Linked DNA regions of Homo sapiens: region 1 is linked to region 2. The links are contacts of gene promoters, found by promoter capture Hi-C in blood cells and fetal thymus (Javierre and others, 2016). All regions are on one chromosome and are shown on one strand. The core of a region is centred on a gene start or on the middle of the fragment in contact, and the rest is flanking DNA. Distances in the headings are between cores, read along the strand shown.

Evidence for each region. Contacts are between HindIII fragments. The CHiCAGO score rates a contact against its expected background, and 5 or more counts as called.
Region 1: a fragment that was not itself captured here is called in contact with the fragment with the promoter of ZNF135 in region 2 in 1 of 17 cell types (non-activated CD4 T cells); the score reaches 5.2 in non-activated CD4 T cells.

What each region holds. Positions count from the first base shown.
Region 1 is chr19:36,752,436-36,755,135 of GRCh38, reverse strand. The region is part of intron 4 of ZNF850 (zinc finger protein 850); the gene reads left to right. Among named protein-coding and RNA genes, the nearest start is that of ZNF850, 19 kb to the left of the region's middle. The HindIII fragment of the contact is 2,842 bases long and covers 1-2,700 here.
Region 2 is chr19:58,058,021-58,060,720 of GRCh38, reverse strand. It overlaps ZNF135 (zinc finger protein 135), which reads right to left and starts at 1,439. Exons shown (of 5, transcript NM_001289401.2): 1 at 1,411-1,439; 2 at 686-752. The coding sequence starts at 718. The HindIII fragment of the contact is 3,956 bases long and covers 1-2,441 here.

The DNA of each region.
Region 1 (2,700 bases), core at 119-2,618, about 21 Mb after region 2:
ACCTTAATTGCACTATAGTCAATATTTACATGGTCAGTATGAGACCAGTTTCTGGAAGTGTGTTCAGACTTACTTCACGCACTGCTGAATTGTCAGTGTTTTTGTGGGGGTGGGGATTCACGTGTTCCTGTGCTTTCTTTTAATTGCTGCGTGTAGAATTCTCACATGTTCAACATATCATGCTTGTTAATTTGATGTAAAGATCCTCTGTATCCTTTTATATTTTCTGGGTGCTTGACCTCTCAGTTATTAAAAGAGGTGTATTGAAATCTCCCACAATCAGCCGTGCGTGGTCGCTCACGCCTGTAATCCCAGCACTTTGGGAGGCCGAGGTGGGTGAAACACAAGGTCAGTAGCTCAAGACCAGGCTGGTCAAGATGGTGAAACCCCATCTCTACTAAAAATACAAAAAATTAGCCGGGCGTGGTGGCAGGCGCCTGTAATCCCAGCTACTTGGGAGGCTGAGGCAGGAGAATCGCTTGAACTCGGAGGGCAGAGGTTGCAGTGAGCTGAGATCGTGCCACTGTACTCCAGCCTGGGTGACAGAGTGAGACTCCATCTCAAAAAAAATAACTAAAAAAAAGAAATCTCCCACAATCAAGATGAAGCCTAAACTTTTTGTATTTTCTCAATTTTTACTTTGCATATTTAGAGTTTATTTTACTGGATGCTTACAAATTTAGAATTGTTATATCTTTTTGGTGAATGAACGTTTTATTATGTAGTAATCCTCTTTATTCCCAAGAATGTTTTCACCTTAAAGTCTATTTTTTTCCAGTGCTAAGACCCTAGCTTTCTATTCATGAATACTTGCCTGATTTTCATTTTCTTAGTTTTTACTTCAACTTTTTTGTGTCCTCATGTTTTTAGTCACTTTTTATTTTAAAAGGGTTGAAATTTACTTTTTCTTTGTTTACATTCCTTATAATTAGTGATGTATTTGGATTTTTTTTTTTTTTTTTTTGAGACAGGGTCTCTCTCTCTCTGTTGCCCGGGCTGAGTGCAGTGGAGCAATCACAGCTCACCACAGCCTCAACCCCCTAGGCTCAAGCAATCTGCATACCTCAGCCTCCCGAGTAGCTGAAAATACAGGCACAATCCACCTCTCTTGGCCTGTTTGAATTTTTTTAACCAGCTTATTCTATTTGTCTCACTTTTCCTGTCTTCTGTTGCCTGTTTTATTTTACACTGTTTTAGATTTGAGGTTTTAAAAAAATCTGATGCCCATACTTAGTTCGATTCCACTGATTTGGAAGTTGAAAGCATGGACTCTTGAGCCAGATTGCCTCCATTCAAATCCTAGCTCTGCTATTTAATACCTCTATGACTTTTGGCAATTTACTTAACCTCTCTGGTCCTCATTTGCAAATATATATGCTATTCACAGGATTCTTCTGAAGATTAAATGAGCTTATATAGTAAATGTGTAAAGCAGTGAAAATAGTGCCTGGCATATAGCAAGCATGGTGTGTAAGCTATTTTTTTTTTTCCTGTCCATTTTGTTCTTATTATTGGGATTTCATCATGCATAATTTTTTTTTAAGAGACAGGTTCTCCCGTGGTCACCCAGGCTGGAGTGCAGTGGCTTGACCACAGCTCATTGCAGCATTGACTTTCCGGGCTCAGGTGATCCTCCCGCCTTAGCCTCCCGAGTACCTGAGGCTACAGGCATGTGCCACCACACCCGGCTTTTTTTTTTTTTTTTTTTTTTTTGAGACAGTGTCCCAGGCTGTTGCCCAGGCTGGTCTTGAACTCCTGGGCTCTGGTAATCTTGCAGTCTTGGCATCCCAAAGTGTTGGGATTAGAGCCATGAACCACCATGCCTGGCTTATAGAACTTTTACTTTTTTTTTTTTTTTTTTTTTCCTGAGATGAAGTCTCGCTCTGTCGCCCAGGCTGGAATGCAGTGGCACAATTTCGGCTCACTGCAAACTCTGTCTCCTGGATTTAAGCAATTCTTCTGCCTCAGCCCCCTGAGTAGCTGAGAATTCAGGCGTGCACCACCATGCCTGGCTTATTTTGTATTTTTAGTAAAGTCGGGGTTTTGTCATGTTGACCAGGCTGGTCTTGAATTCCTGACCTCAGGTGATCCACCTGCCTCAGACTCCCAAAGTGCTGAGATTACAGGCGTGTGCCACCGCACCTGGCCCCGTAGAACTTTTAAAATTTACCATCCATGGCACTCATGGCACCTCAGATTTTTTTTAGAAAACCTCATCACTTCTGAATAAATTTTAGCTGTTCCATCTTGAATATAGTTTGCTCCCTGTTCTTTCAGTATTACTTTCAGGAAGACAAATGAATTCTTTGACTTTTCTTTATGACTTTTAACCTTGCTTTTGCATTTCCAGTTATTTAACCATTCCAGTGAGGTTTTGTTGTTGATTTCTTTCTCTTTTTCTCCTTGAAATTTATATGTTGAAGAAACTGGATCATCTGTCATTTAACATTTAGCTCTCCTCCCTTTACTCCTTTCTTTCCTATAAACAGACTATGTGATATTAGTATTGTGTATTTCATCAAGAAGCACATATCTGGTTGTTTCTGTTTTTGTGAAGTTAGCAGCCATTCCTCATCTCATCCCCTAAAAATTACTAGGTAATTTTAAAATTGTCCTTATGAACACACAGATTTAAAAAAATTTGATGTGATTTATTGTAATTACATTACAATGATTACAGTTTTTATTCTTGAATTCATG
Region 2 (2,700 bases), core at 190-2,689:
GCTGGGATTACAGCTACAAGCCATCGCACCAGTCCCCTTGTACGGGTTTTCTGACATTCCTACAGGAGGCTGGTTTCTTCTGGTGGCTTATGGGTGGGGTTAATGTCATCATAAAAAGGCGAGTTCCGCCCCCTTGGCCTCCATGACGTCTGAGGAAGCGGCACTCGATGCGCCATCTTGGAGCGCAGAGCATGCTAAGGCCTTCAACTTCAGACTGCAGAGCCGGGGCACCTACAATTTTCTGACATCACCCAGCCTCAGGTATGCAATGACGGCCGCACAAACATAAAGCCCACTCAGACAGGGACCCGTGCCCGCTGACCTCCAGCGCGGCGTGGGCGGTCCTTTCAGAGGCAGGCTGTGGTTGGGGAGCTTGGCGCGGACTTTAGGAGGCCGGGTGTGCAGGTAGAGGCCGGACACGAGTAGAGGCTAGATGTGCAAATAGAGGCCGGGCACGAGTAGAGGCCGGGCACCAGTAGAGGCCAGGTGCGCGAGTAGAGGCCAGTTGTGCGAGTAGAGGCCGGGCACGAGTAGGGGCCGGGCACGCAAGTAGGGGCCGGGCACAAGGAGGAGGCTGAGCGCGAGTAGGGACGGGGTGCAAAGAGGAGGCCGGGCGTGAGAAGGCCGCGCGCGAGGAGGCCGGGCACGAGGTGGAGGACACGCGCAAGGAGGCCGAGATTCTCACCGGGTCTGTGGAGACGCGCACCCCAGGGGTCATGCCCTGGCTTCTGGCAGGAACGGCTGGCCCTGCTCTGTGGGAAAGGGGAGGTGAGCAGCTGGGGCAGGCAGAGGCGGTGCTCAGGTCCCCAAGCCGGGGAACTGCGCCAGAGCCTGGGGAGCTCCGCGGAGAGCCGTCCAGGGCCCCGCGTACCCGTTTAAGCGCCTGCTGTGTGTGGGGCGGCCCTCCGCTCGGAGAAGGGCAGCCTAGGGTTTTCCCGCCTGTCTGAGGGAAGCTGAAGGCCTGGCGGGTGCGGACACATATCTGCTGCGCAGACTCTGAGCCTTAACGCTACAGTGACAAGGGCCGGGTGGTTGCGGTCCCCTGGCCCTGGGCACTATGCCTCAGTTTCTCTCTTCCATCAACAAAGGTGGCGGCCCAGTGCCCGGTGTGGGGCAGAGGTGGGGCCAGGGGCGGGGCGCGCGTTCCCTCAGGGGCCGTCGGAGCAGCTCCTGTCCAGCTGGGCGTTGGGCCCCGCCCTCCTCTCAGACTAGGGATGCCCCGCAAAGCCTGCCCCCGCCAGCCCCGAAACGGCCTTCCCCAGGCCCCGGGCAGCAAAACGGACTCCACACAGACGCGCGCTGCTGGAAACTCGCCCCGCCAGGGCCTCAGGAAGATCCCCGGACCCCCCGCACCCGGCCCGGCCCGGCCCGGCCTGGCCTCCCCTCCCCCTCCTCGCCGGCCTAGCTCACCCTCCTGACTGCGAGACAAAGGCCGCGGCACCGGCAGCCGACACTGCGCCGGCGCGAGCCTAACTCCATTTCCCAGAGAGCCGCGCGCGCATTTCCGGCCGCCCTCCCCCACCTCGCTCTCGCCCTTGGCGTTCGTGAGCTCTCAGTGCTGCTGGAGCTGGAGTGACTGGGCCTGGTGAAACAGGGCGCGCGGGGTGCCTGGGCATCAACGCGGGATAAGTGCCGCTTGGAACGCCGTGAGCTCCCGGCGCGACCACACGGGCTTTCGTGTTGGAAACTCTACCGTCAGTTTTACTGCTGCAAACAAAGCAATGATTTTTTCAAAACACATACTTTCAACCAAAACATTCACCAAGATCGCACACACGGGAGTCTTTGCATTTTCCACACTGAGGCAGCCATGGAGACTTCACACTGTATTTATTACATGGTTATAAGGAACATCACGTGCAAGACACTAACAATTATGACGACTTTGGACATTGCTAGGTAATTGTCAAAATTGTGCATTTGAACAGCAGCAAAATATTCAAAGCTGGTGTGCCCTCGCTGACACGAAATGAATTGTCATTTTCTGAACATTCACCAAAGCCTGCCAGGCGCTAGGCCTAGGTTCAGCAGCACACAATAGTGAAGCCCCCATTCAAGCGGGCTTCGTTTCACCAGCGTACGTCACACGTCCGTGGAGCAGCGAGACCAGAGGAGCTGGGAAAGCCAGGGCTGAGCCTTGTGCTTTTGCCCTTTTAAGGGAGGACAGATTAATTCCAATCAGCCTGGGCTTGGGAGCTGTATTTGAAGCAGAGGAAAAGTTTTAAGACGGGCATTTTTTTTTCTTTGACTGAAACAACTCTGAAAACAGCAGAGAACACAATACGAATTCTCGTACCACACACAGACACTTGCAAAGATTTGGCTGGTTAACACACAAGTTAAGACTTTAAATTTCATAAGCCCTAAAACAGTGGCAATTATGAAGAGATATAATGGCTCAAAATCATAATGCACTGATGTAAACAAAGCAAAGGCAAGCTTCTTGGCTTTTAAGGGCGTCCTGTACATTCCAAGTACTGTAAAGCCCCACATTTGTGACCGTCGCACTGAAAGCCAGCCTGCTTTTCACTCTACAGCAGTAAAGAGGCTTTCCATTATACATAAAATGCCGTTTTTCAGTTCTCGAACTCACAAACCCAAATGCCACAAAACATCTTTTTGTGTATTTTTTCTTTCACAAAATGTATACTCTTGCCCCCCACCCCCACCCCCAACCGTTTCCTTTTACTGGATCAAAAG